3 separate regions of the Homo sapiens genome follow, and all the other regions are linked to region 1. The links are contacts of gene promoters, found by promoter capture Hi-C in blood cells and fetal thymus (Javierre and others, 2016). All regions are on one chromosome and are shown on one strand. Each heading gives the region's core, a stretch centred on a gene start or on the middle of the fragment in contact. The rest is flanking DNA. Distances are from core to core; before and after follow the strand shown.

Region 1 (4,266 bases), core at 505-3,004:
TGTATCTTTCTAGAATATTTTCTATGATTCAATTTACCCAAAGCTTTCTATGAGCAACTTCACGGTTGTGTATTGGATACTTCAACAAGGGCTCAGAATTTGAAATCATTTTAGGTTTTAAAAAAGTTGCAAAAACAGACGACAAAGTATGCCTGAGGAAAAAGAAAAAAAAGTTGCAAAATATCATAGTATGGCTTTACCCTGGAAGAAGAAAACAAAGTTGCAAAAATAGGATAGTGCTTCCCTAGATTCTTCATCTAATAGAATCTCCAAAAGTTCACATCTTACATAGTATAATTATTAAAACTATTGATACAATACTACTAATATGAATTAATAGGCCTTATTCAAATTTCGTCAGTTGTCCCATTCATGTCCTTTTTATTTTTCTTTTTTGAGACGGAGTCTCAGTCTTGACCCCCAAGCTGGAGTGCAGTGGTGCGATCTCAGCTGTCTGCAACCTCCGCCTCCCGGGTTCAAGCGATTCTCCTGCCTCAGCCTCCGAGTAGCTGGGATTACAAGTGTGCACCACCATGCCCGGCTAATTTTTGTATTTTTAGTAAAGACGGGGTTTCGCCATGTTGGCCAGGCTGGTCTCGAACTCCTGACCTCAGGTGATCTGCCCGCCTCGGCCTCCCAAAGTGCTGGGATTACAGGAGTGAACCACCGCACCCGGCCCCATGTCCTTTTTCTATACCAGGAGCCAATTCCGGATTTCACATTACATTCCTGCTCTGTCACCCAGGCTGGCCTCCAAGTCCTGGGCTGAGCGATCCTCCCGCCTCAGCCTCCTGCGTAGCTGGGACTACAGGCGCGCGCCACCACTCCTGGCTGCCGCTTCTTTAAAATGGTGAAACCCCGTCTCTACTAAAAATAGAAAAAATTAGCCGGGTCTGCTGGCGGACGCCTGTAATCCCAGCTACTCTGGAGGCTGAGGCAGGAGAATCTCTTGAACCCGGGAGGCGGAGGTTGCAGTGAGCCGAGATCGCGTCACTGCACTCCAGCCTGGGCAAGAAGAGCGAAACTCCGTCAAAAAAATATATATATATATTTTAATCTATGCCCTGTACTTGAGGGATTTGTGCTCTCGGGCAAATTACCGAACGTCTCTGAGTCACTTTTCCGTCTAATAGACGTGATGCGATGAAGAACCAATAAAAAACACACTTTGAATGGCTTCGGAAACTTCGAAGGGAAGTGAATACATTTTTCTTTTCTTTCTTTCTTTTTTTTTGAGACAGTCTCGCTCTGTCGCCCAGGCTGGGGTGCAGTGGCGCGATCTCGGCCCACTTCAACTTCTGCCTCCTGGGTTTAAGCGATTCTCCTGCCTCAGCCTCCCGAGTAGCTTGGATTACAGGCGTCGGCCACCAGGCCCGGCTAATTTCTGTATTTTTAGTAGAGACGGGTTTTCAACGTGTTGGCCAGGCTGGTCTTGAACTCATGACCTTAAGTGATCCGCCCGCCTCGGCCTCCTAAAGTGCTGGCATTACAGGCGTGAGCCACCGCGCCCGGCCTGTGAATACATTTTTCTTATTGCTTGACGCTGGGTCATACAATTCACTTTTTTGTTGTGCAGATTAAAACCAAAACAAAGCAATTAGGAGAGCGTTGTTGTCGAGGTGTTTTGTTCCAAGGTAGGACCCGTAGCTTCTCCCCTGCCCCTCAGCTGGGAGTAGCGGCTTCTGATTGGACAATGCGCGTCCGCCACGACGCAGGAAGGCCGCCTCATTGGTCCGCGCTGTCGGGCTTCGGCGGCTTTTCTCTTTAGCGCTCAGGGCGCTGACCCACTGCTCTTCCTCTTAAGAAAGTGCTCCATTCCTTCCGGCGCCCGGAGCTGCTGGCCCAAAGGGATCCGGAGCGAGCTAGGGCAGGTAACTGCATTGGGGTCCACCGGGAAGCGGCAGCAGCTGCGGACTACGGGAGGGAGTGGGGTTGGCGAGCTTGGGTAAAACTGCCCCTTCTTCGCTCTGTCTCGACCCCCAAGTTCTCCGCGTCTTCCTCGTCCCCTTTCCTCCTCTGGCCCCACCTCCCCCGGGCCCTTCCAGCCTTCCCCCAAAAGCTCCACACACCCCTCTGCTTCCCGTCCGGGGGCCCCGCCTCCTCTGCTCGCGTCTCCAGGGGGCCCGCCCTCGTCTCCTCCCCGCAGCGGTCCCTCCTTTAGGAGCGCAACTCCTTCCCTCCCCTCCGCCGCTGCTGTGTCCCCCGCTTGGCCCATTCCTGGGCCTTAAGTTTGGTTTTGTTCCTTCTTGGCACCTCCACCTGTCTCTCCATGATCCCTGTCTCCTTTGCATCTGACTGCTGGAGTCCTCCGATTCTCCCGTTGACCCAGGCTGCGAGTTTAGCAAATTGTGCAGCGGCATTGTGCTGGGCTTTGGGGATAGAGGTAGTGACTAGAGGTCCCTACGTTCAAGAACTCCTTGCCCGGTGGGAGAGAGTCACTTTGTAAATGGAGTATGATAGGCCCGGTGATAAGTCTTTAAGGCAGCCGCATTCCTGCTGAATTCTCAAGCAGGCCTCTGGGGGCTAAGCTGCATCTTTTCATCAGAATGCCCTTGGCTACTTCTGATGCAGAAGCCTGGTCCTTTATATTTTTAGTTTTTATTTTTTTTTGAAACAGAGTCTCGCTCTGTCTCCCAGGCTGGAGTGCAGTGGCGTGATCTTGGCTCACTGCAACCTCCGCCTCCCGGATTCAAGAGATTCTCGTGCCTCAGCCTCCTGAGTAGCTGGGAAAACAGACACCCGCCACCACACCTGGCTAATTTTTGTTTGTTTGTTTGTTTGCTTTTACTAGTAGAGACAAGAGTTTCGCCATGTTAGCCAGGCTGGTCTCGAATACCTGGTCTCAAGTGATCCTCCCTCCTCGGCCTCCCTAAGTGCTGGGATTACCTGCGCGAGCCCGGCCATCATAGTCCTTTAAACCCTTGGGAGTTATTAAAATCTTTGTATGGGCCCTTCTTTTAAACTGTCAGAATAGGTAGCGTTTCAGAGACCATCCATCCAAGCCCTCAGGGTGTTGTCTGGGAAGTTGAAGGCTGGTGACAGAGAGTGATTGCCTAGACAAATAGTGACTCAGCATTGTACTCTTGATGCCTCTTTTTGGGGTTTTTCCTGAGGATACTTAAACAATTTTTCAATTAGGCAGCAGTCTTAGCTGGTGGGAAAACTAAAAGCACAGATAAAACCACTAGTCAGTAGATTCCTCCAAGCCAGTGCAGGTGGCTTGTACACTTAACTCAGACTAGAGTAATTTATACCTCAGGCTCTTGGAGTCAGGAATCCCTGGGGTCTGGTCCCAGCTCCGTCATTCGCTGTTAAGCTTGGTGAAGACTCTTCCTTTATCTGAGCTTCAGTTTTACCTTCTGTTAAAGAGTGTGATAAGCCCTAACACACAGGGTAACGGTAGGGATTTGTTAAGATTTTGGTTATGAAAATAATCACTTTAGTGTCCTGGAAATTGTAGGATCTCAGCACAGGCGAGCCCCCTATGCTTCAGATTCATGTCTGTCTGGCTCAAATCAGCAAAGAACCTGATATGCTTTCTTTTTCCAGACACCATGACCACCCTTGATGATAAGTTGCTGGGGGAGAAACTGCAGTACTACTATAGCAGCAGTGAGGATGAGGACAGTGACCACGAGGACAAGGACCGAGGCAGATGTGCCCCAGCCAGCAGTTCTGTGCCTGCAGAGGCTGAGCTGGCAGGCGAAGGCATCTCAGTTAACACAGGTACTGAGAAACCCTGGGCTCTGGGAACAGGCTTAAAAAATGTACATTAAATACATATTAATTAAATACATATTAATAAATTAATTCTCCTGATCACTTTTAACTCTGGTCCCACTTTCAGAGGTAACCTAGTCTTTTCATTATGTGTGCTTCTAGCCTTTTAGTGCACAATACAAATGTATGTGCATAGCAGCATGGTAATGAACACAGACTGGCCTGGATTTGAATCCTGCATCTCGTATTAACAGTTTGATATCTCATAAATCACAAGTATGAGTATATGGGTAGTGCAAATTCCTAAAAATGGCATATTTACACTTGTACATTTTAATATTGTCAAATTGCTGTCAGTTGAGTTGAGGTGGCAGTAGTTTATAGTTTAATCAGCAATCTGTGTTTCTCCGTACACTTGACCTCCTACTGTGTTATGAAACTCCTTGATCTTTGCTATTGTAGTAATTCATTGTAGGTTTATTTCCGCCCCCACCACCTTTTTTTTGTTTTGTTTTGTTTTTTTGTTTTTTAAGACAAGTTCTCACC
Region 2 (4,266 bases), core at 836-3,335, 680 kb after region 1:
TGGCTCACGCCTGTAATCCCATCACTTTGGGAGGCCGAGGTGGGCAAATCATGAGGTCAGGAGATCGAGACCATCCTCGCTAACATGGTAAAACCCCGTCTCTACTAAAAATACAAAAAATTAGCCGGGTGTGGTGGTGGGCGCCTGTAGTCCCAGCTACTTGGGAGGCTGAGGCAGGAGAATGGTGTGAACCCGGGAGGTGGAGCTTGCAGTGAATGGAGATTGTGCCACTACCTCCACTCCAACCTGGGCAACAGAGCGAGACTCCGTCTCAAAAAAAAAAAAAAAAAAAAAAATTTCTTTAGGCCTTCTAGCATGTGCAGGTTTGTTTTTAGTTAATTAGCTAATTAAAGAACAGAAGGGAGTAGAGAAAGATAAAGTATTAGTGAAACACTGTCAGTTGAAAACATTGTGGAGGTTATTGTGGAATTCACTGGGGAAATAGGATCAGGCTTATGCCACATTTTTCAGGAACATATCTAAGATTTTTTTTTTAAAACTACATTCTTGTACTTTTAAAAGTGTTTCTCTTTCTCCTATATTTCCTATCTTAGTTTTGACACCACCATCTGTTGAAACATCAGAGCTAGAAACCTGAATTCTTCATTCCCTACTGATTCCATGCAGTCATCACTTCCTTTAGATTAGCATCTTCTGGAATTTTTTTTTTAATCCTCTCATTGTTCCTGCTGCTGTTATCTTATTCTTGGACAGGAGTTCTTAACCTGGGGTACATGAATTTCTGGGAGAGGAGGGTGGATCAATGTGGGCTTTAGATGAAATTGAAGAATTGAGGATTAAATTACACCTCCACAAGAAGAGTGATCTGTGTGGAAAACAAATCTTATGTCACTGTGTTTTTAAAAACTGTACGGGGACTCTCCATTGCTGGTGAGATAAAGCATCTTCTCCATAACATGGCATGCAGGCCCTTTATGATCTGACCCATCCCTGCTTCTTCAGCCTCAGCTCCCTCTGTTCCCTGTGGAGCAGCACAGGTAGCAAGGCATGGAGGAAAAAACTCAGGTCTTACTCTCTCTCCTAGGCTGGAATGCAGTGGTGCGATCACAGCTCACTGCAGCCTTGACTTCCTGGGCACAGGTGATTCTCCCACCTCAGCCTCCCAAGTAGCTGGGACTACAGGCACAGGCCACCATGCCCAACTAATTTTTGTATTTTAGTAGAGACAGGATTTTGCTATATTACCCAGTCTGGTCTTGAGATCCTGAGCTCAAGCAGTCCTCCCACCTTAGCCTCCCAGTGTGATGGGATTACAGGTCACCATACCCGGTCTAGTTCCCTTCTCTTTGTGTATAGCATCTGTGAATGGTTGGATTATAAGCTTGGTGTCATGAGTAATAACTTAGCAATTTTTTTGTCTTTTATATCTGGCTTGATTATTTTCAGATACTTTTTGATGTACTGAACATATTATTTTAAATAGTTGATAATTCTAGATTGGAAAGTGGTAGAACTTATACATGTAACAAATAAAACTACCTTTTCTCATTTCTGACTTATGAAAGAAGAAATAACAAGTCATGCTAGTAAGAAAGCATATTTATTCTTGAATCTTTGTATTAACATTTTTTAAAACTCTGTGAGATAAAAAAAAAATTCTCTTAACTCTTTTCAAAAGTGTATTTCTCGATCAGGTGCCATGGCTCACACCTGCAATTCTAGCACTTTGGGAGGCTGAGGCAGGAGGATCGCTTGAGCTCACGAGTTCAGGACTAGCCTGGGCAACATTTTTTTTGTTTTTCTTTTTGAAGTGGAGTCTCACTCTGTCACCCAGGCTGGAGTACAGTGCCACGATCTCTGCTCACTGCAACCAGTGCCTTCCGGGTTCAAGCAATTCTGCCTCAGCCTCTTGAGTAGCTGGGATTACAGGCACCCGCCACCATGGCCAGCTAAATTTTGTATTTTTAGTAGAGAAGGGGTTTCACCATGTTGCCTGGGCTGGTCTTGAACTCTGACCTCAAGTGATCCACCTGCCTCAGCCTCCCAGAGTGCGGGGATTACAGGCATGAGCCACTGTGCCCAGCCAATTTCATAAATGTCTTTAATTCCTTAAAGGAGCTGCAAATACCAAGGAACCACTAGTGGATCATTAGGAACCATCTGTACTTATGACAGGGCGGTGGGATAACTTTCAAAAGCAAACAAACGAAACTAGTAGACTTGAAGACTTAGGTTCCAGCTTTAGCTCTGACATTAGTGTGTATCTTATCTTAGGCATGCCAACCTCCCTGGTCTTCATCTGTGCACTAGAGATAATAATGCCTCATAAGGTGGTTATAATAATAATTGGGTGATTGTATACACAAAAGCTCTGTTCCCAATAAAAGGTTTCTGAATTTATACATCTAGGAAGATGAATCTGGTCATTTTACATGAGGTGACTTAAGAGTTCAGCCCAGTAGAAGAATAATCAGAAGACTGCTGACAGCTGTGGCCTTATGTCTTCTTACTTCTCTGGGCCTATTTCTTTATCTTTAAAATGACAGCAGTTTCTGCTGGCTTTCCAGTTGAGATTTTTGTGACCATCAGGGGATACTGTGAGTGTAAATTATCTCTCTCCCTGTTGCAGTTTAGTACTTCACCACTCTCCTGGCTTATTGGCTCAGCTCCCCAATTTGGGTCTTGCCTCTCTCCACTTTAGCTTTCACACTTCCCAGCCTACAGAGATGGGATTTAGTTACTGCCGTGCTTCAGTGGCACCTGTTAACCGTCAGGTTAAAACGCAAACACCTTTGCATATCATTTAATACCCTTTATCATCTGGCCTGTCCACCACTGTAGTGTGGTATTAAGAAGCACAAGCTTTGGAGTAGGCATATCTGGCTTTGTGTACAATTTCTTCCACTATTAGCTAGGTGGCCTCAGTGAGCCCCTGCAGAATGACCTCCTAAGAGTGAAAATGGAATGGAATCATGTGCTCAGCATCATTTCTAGCAATAAGTTCTTGGTGAGATGCTTCATCTCCCTCCATTCTTCATGCAGCCTTTGATTCAGCCATTCTGAAGACATGCCTGCCTATCTTCATATGTAGTCTTTCCTTGGAATGTCTTTTCCTCCCTTGCCTTTCTGACTGGCTCCTGCTCAGACTTTAAGCTAAGTCTTACCTCCTTAAAAATATTCCAGACCCCCAGCCTTCAGGATGGGTTAGATGTGCACAGTCCTTGCTCCTATAGAGGCAGTTCCTGTCTCCATCATTGCCATTAGCCATCAGGGTGATTTGGAAATCTTGGTTGTTATTCCTGGCTTTCTCCCTCACTAGACTGTGATCCCCTTGAGGACAGTATCTTGTTCCCTTCTGTATCCCTAGTTTCTACCACATGGAATGACATAAAGTAGGCTTTCCTGAGTGTTTGTTCAATGATTAAATACGTCTGAATGTGATTTGCTGGGAATTTAAGTCGGGGAGCAGTTGTAGCAGCGGGAGCAATGAGGAGACACCAGGAGGCGCATTGATGGTTACAGATTCCTCCACCCTAGCTTTCAACTTTGCTTTTGCCCTCTTCACCCTTCCCAGGTCACCAAAGTGAAAACAGATCGACCTTTACCGGAGAATCCCTATCACTCAAGACCAAGACCGGATCCCAGCCCTGAGATCGAGGGAGATCTGCAGCCTGCCACACATGGCAGCCGCTTTTATTTCTGGACCAAGTAAAGATGGGTCCGTGGCCCACACTCGGTCATGTGCTCAGACAACGACTGATGAAAACGCCCATGCGGTTTGCATCGACTGATAGTGTGTTCTTTCCGGGATCACAAACATTAACAAAAAAGTTAACTTATGTGACTTGGCAGTTATTCTATACCATTTCCTGTCCATTAAAATTTTTAAAGGAAACGGTTGTATTTTATTATGTTTTATGTGACCTTTTGGCCTTTAAAGATGACTTCCCCTTGCTTTTTTCTTCTTGTGGTCCTGCCTGTTCCTCTTGCTTTGCTTTAGGCACTCGCTCATGTGGCTGGGGATCCCTGTTAGAACAGGCAGAAGTGGCCATGTGAAGGAAAGGCTTTGTTACTTTAGGCAGCTCCTTGGGGTGTGTCTGTGTTCACACATTTTGAAGTCTCAGCTCTCTTTCCTTCCATCCAACGTCTTAGGCAAATAGATTTCTCTAAAGGTCATACAAGGGGAGCCTCCAGGATAGAAGTGCAGAAACTTCTTTGAGGCATGACTCGGAATGGGAGGGGCCCCTAGCAGGGTCTCATGCAGTCTTGCTCAAAGTTTCTTGAAGAACCGAACTTCCACCACTT
Region 3 (4,266 bases), core at 494-2,993, 660 kb after region 1:
AGCCTGGGCGACAGAGACTCGTTTTCAAAAAAAAAAAAAAAAAAAAAGGTCAGGTGCGGTGGCTCACACCTGCGCACCTGTAATCCCAGCACTTTGGGAGGCCAAGGCGGGTGGATCACAAGGTCAAGAGACTGAGACCATCCTGGCAAACATGGTGAAACCCAATCTCTACTAAAAATACAAAAATTAGCTGGGCATGGTGGTGCACGCCCGTAGTCCCAGCTACTCGGGAGGCTGAGGCAGGAGACTCGCTTGAACCCAGGAGGCGGAGGTTGCAGTGAGCCGAGATTGTGCCACTGCACTCCAGCCTGGTGACAGAGTGAGACTAAAAAAAAAAAAAAAAAGTGGGGGGAGTGGGGGAGAAGCAAAGAGAAGAGTGAATGGAACAAGGTGGGCACCAGACAGGGAGGATGGGGTGCCAGAGGGTGAGGCTCTTCTTGCGTGAGGATCTCTCCTCCACAGCATCCGTCCCCCCAGCTGATCACCTTTATGGCCAATCCGTTTTCCCAAATGGCGTCGTATTGGCTTCCGCTGGGGAAGTACAGGGTTCCCTCGCCGTGAAACATGCCATCCTTCATTTCCCCAACATATATTGTTTCGGTAGGGAGGATGTACTTGGCTTTGCCCTCCATCCTGTAAAGACACAGGGAAATCACTGAGCCCTGTGTGACAGCTGGAGGATCAGAGCTGGCAGGCAACAGAGTGAGCAGGAACCCCGTTCTCAGCATTCTCATCCTTCTCATCCCAGCAGTACTCTGCTGAAAACAAAATTTTTGTTTTGTTTCCCTCAAAAGCTCAAAAACGAAAAGAGGGGAATAGAGTTTGCTCTGTTCATTCTCCCCTTCACCTAGAGGCTCACTCTCACCTTGGAGTTCACACTGCTCCCTGAAATAAACCCCCCTAGTAGGCCCAGAGAGCGTAGAGATGTGCCCAAAACCACACACAGTAAAAACTGTGGACACTAGAGCCCAGGTTTTCTGGCAGCTAGTTCTGTGATTTCTCTGTCCCCCATGACCAACCCATCCTTGCCTATTATGCCACAAGTGGAATATTAGGGAAAATATGAAATTTAGAGACAGGAGTAAGGGTTTGAAGCTTACCACCATTATATATATATATAATCTTGGATACTAATATTGTTTGGCTGTGTCCCCACCCAAATCTCATCGGGAATTGTAGCTCCCATAATCCCCACATGTCATGGGAGGGACTCAGTGGGAGGTAACTGAATCATGGGGGTGGGTTTTTCCCATGCTGTTCTCATGATAGTGAATAAGTCTCATGAGATCTGATGGTTTTATAAAGGGCAATTCCCCTGAACATGCTCTCTTGCCTGCTGCCATGTAAGATGTGCCCTTGCTCCCCCTTTGCGTCCACCATGATCGTGAGGCCTTCCCAGCCATGTGGAACTGTGAGTCCATTAAGCCTCTTTCCTTTATAGATTACCCAGTCTTTGGTTATGTCCTTACAGCAGCATGAGAACAGACTAATACAGATACTTTCCCAAACCTCTTTGCTTGTGCCTCCCTCCCTTCCTTCCCTTCCTTCTTTCCTTCCAAACAGGTATTTACAGAGCACCTACATTTTGTCAGGGACTATGCTGATGGTCCAACTTGCTGAATACAACACAGATTCAACAGTGATCAAGGCAGATGCGGTCCCTGTCCTCGGGGGGCTCACAGTCTAGTGGGGGACAAAATTGAGTAATTATACAATGTGTGATAAGTGCTATGCAGGAGGAAGACAGGCTCATACAGGAGAACAAGGCAGGGACACCAGCTTGACCAGTTGACTAGCTTCTTTGTTTTGTTTTTTGTTTTTTTCCCAAGACCAGATCTTGTTCTGTCTCCCAGGCTGCAGTACAGCTGTGTGATCATGGCTCAATGCAGCCTCAATCCCCTGAACTCAAGTGATCCTCCCACCTCAGCCTCCCAAGTAGTTGGAACCACAGGTGTGCCCCACCACGCCTGGCTTATTTAATTTTTTTTTTTTTTTTTTTTTTTTTGTAGAGACGGGGTTTCCCTATGTTGCCCAGGCTGATCTAGAACTTCTGGGCTCAAATGATCCTCCTGCCTCAGCCTCCCAAAATGTTGGGATTACAGGTGTGAGCCACTGCACTGGGCTGACCAGTTTCTTTATGGGTGAAATGGCTGCAATTAATCCAGGTAACATATAACGATTTTCCTAGTAAAGGGCCTGACATATATATAGTGAGTGCTTAATAAATATGCTTTCATTCATTCCTTCTCCATTCCTCCTAACAAGCTGAAGGCTCCTCTCCTAACTCTGACCTTCTTTAGGCTTTTGCTAATACCTCTGTCGGGATGTGTAACACTTTCTATCTTGTTTTGTAATTAGGTATCTTATCTCCTGTATTTAAGAAAAGCTTCTTTAAAGGAAGACTTTGGTATCCTCAGCTCCTAGAACCATTAAGCAGGTGCTTCATAAACGTCTCCTGAGTAAAGAATGAAGGAAACAGAAAGAGTAGTCAGTGAACAGAGTGGATGACAAAGTTGTTGAGATAACTGAGTGAGACGATGGTTGTGAAACTATAGCAGAATGCCCGGCATAGAACAAGAAATTGAAAACTATTTCACTTTTATTCTAGTGCAAGACATGGGGGGAAGGGAGAATTCCTCTTCTCCTTCCCTCCTGTACTCTTTGCTTGAGCTCACATCTATCATTTCTAAGCACCATCTCCATATTCAAGTTCTACACCCTTCTCTGAGGTTAGACCCCACCCCTTTTCTTACCTTGAACTGGACATCACTGTTCAGACCTCTCACAGACATCTCCAACTCGCCTAAAACAGAACTCATCTCCTCCTCCCCTAAGCAGCACCTCCTTAGAGTTCTCTATTTCCATGAATGGTATCAGAATCCTCTGGTTCAAGGCCAGGAGCTGGGCCCAGGGCTGGGGCTGTAAGCCATCTCTGGACGGGACTGGAGCCAATCAGCTGCCAACTCCTGGCAGTAAAATCCCCAAACCTCTCCTACATTTTTCTCTTTCCTGCAGCTTCACTGCTTCTGCCTTGGCCCAGGGTTCTGCTGCCTCTTACTGGGACAACTGCAGTGAGCTCTGAGCTGATCTCCCCATCTTCACTTTTCCTGCTTCCCTCCTCTCTGTCCCTCCTTCTCTCCTTCTCCTCCCTTCTTCTTTTTCTCCTTCACTCTCTCTCTCTCTTTCCCTTCCTTTCTCCCTCCTTCTCTTCCATTTTAAAAAATTCATTCAAGGTGAAAAGCCTGCCTTCTAAATTCAAAGTAAGTTAAAAAGAAGAAAAAAACCACTTTATAGTGAAGGCTTCAATCCATAATAAGGATATGATTACCAGATCTCAAATACCTATCAATTAGCTGGGCATGGTGGCGCATATCTGTGGTCCCAGCTACTGGGGAGGCTGAGGTGGGAGGATCGCTTGAGTCCGGTGGGGTGGACATTGCTGTGAGCCAAGACTGCACCACTGCACTCCAGCCAGAGCACTCCAGAGTGAGACCCTGTCTCAAACAAACCCCTCAAAACCTATGATTCATTCATTCATTCATTCAGCCAACATTTACTGAGTCTCTACCACACATATGCATTATGAGGAGAGTTACAGAGATGAAATAAGTTTTATTTCCTGATGCTTGGCCCTACCAGGATCTATCAGTGGTTCCTCCACCACCAGAATTGTGCACGGTATTGAAATTTCTTTGCCAGAGCACAGACCGCCTGTCCAGCTTCCCTTTGCATAACTCCTCTGGGCACAACCCACTCTCCTGCCAAACTGAACTGCCAGCTCTACTCCATACGTGCCCTCTGGGCTATTGCTCATGCTGTTCCCTCTGCCTAAAAACTTCTAGAAAAAGAATTCTTCACCTTGCATCTCCAACCACCTAAATCCTACCCAACCTTCAAGGCCCATTTCAAATACTATCTCTTCCACGAAGCCTTTAAGGACGGCTCCGACTGTATGTGGCCTCTGAAGGGCCACAGCAGCAGGGCTCTATTGTAGGAAGCCTGTGGGCTTTACAGTCTGATCGACCTGGGTTTTAATACCTGCTCTGCCAAATGCTAACTGGGTGACTTTGGGCAGGTTTACTCCGAGCCTTACTTTTCCCATCTGTAAAATAGGATAATGATATCTATCTCAAAGAGTCCCTGTGAAGAGAAGATGCAGGCAAAGCCACCCAGAGCACAGTAGTTACTACATAAATGCTATGGGCGTCCCTTCCTCCCCTGTGTCTGTAGGTCTCTTCTGGCACTTACCTTGTGGTGCTTTGGAGT

What was found. The method cuts DNA at HindIII sites, captures the fragments that hold promoters and counts their contacts. A CHiCAGO score of 5 or more calls a contact.
Region 2: a fragment that was not itself captured here is called in contact with the fragment with the promoter of PDCL in region 1 in 1 of 17 cell types (naive B cells); the score reaches 5.2 in naive B cells.
Region 3: a contact is called between a fragment that was not itself captured here and the fragment with the promoter of PDCL in region 1, in 2 of 17 cell types (total CD8 T cells and total CD4 T cells). The highest score is 6.2, in total CD8 T cells.

The regions. Positions count from the first base shown.
Region 1 is chr9:122,826,076-122,830,341 of GRCh38, reverse strand. PDCL (phosducin like) reads left to right here and starts at 1,754. Exons shown (of 4, transcript NM_005388.5): 1 at 1,754-1,871; 2 at 3,550-3,726. The coding sequence starts at 3,555. RefSeq lists an enhancer at 1,558-1,852. The HindIII fragment of the contact is 3,273 bases long and covers 46-3,318 here.
Region 2 is chr9:122,143,648-122,147,913 of GRCh38, reverse strand. NDUFA8 (NADH:ubiquinone oxidoreductase subunit A8) reads left to right here. Exons shown (of 4, transcript NM_014222.3): 4 at 3,536-3,856. The coding sequence ends at 3,673. Among named protein-coding and RNA genes, the nearest start is that of NDUFA8, 14 kb to the left of the region's middle. The HindIII fragment of the contact is 1,481 bases long and covers 1,345-2,825 here.
Region 3 is chr9:122,163,135-122,167,400 of GRCh38, reverse strand. It overlaps MORN5 (MORN repeat containing 5), which reads right to left. Exons shown (of 5, transcript NM_198469.4): 2 at 486-633. Among named protein-coding and RNA genes, the nearest start is that of MORN5, 5.4 kb to the right of the region's middle. The HindIII fragment of the contact is 1,291 bases long and covers 1,098-2,388 here.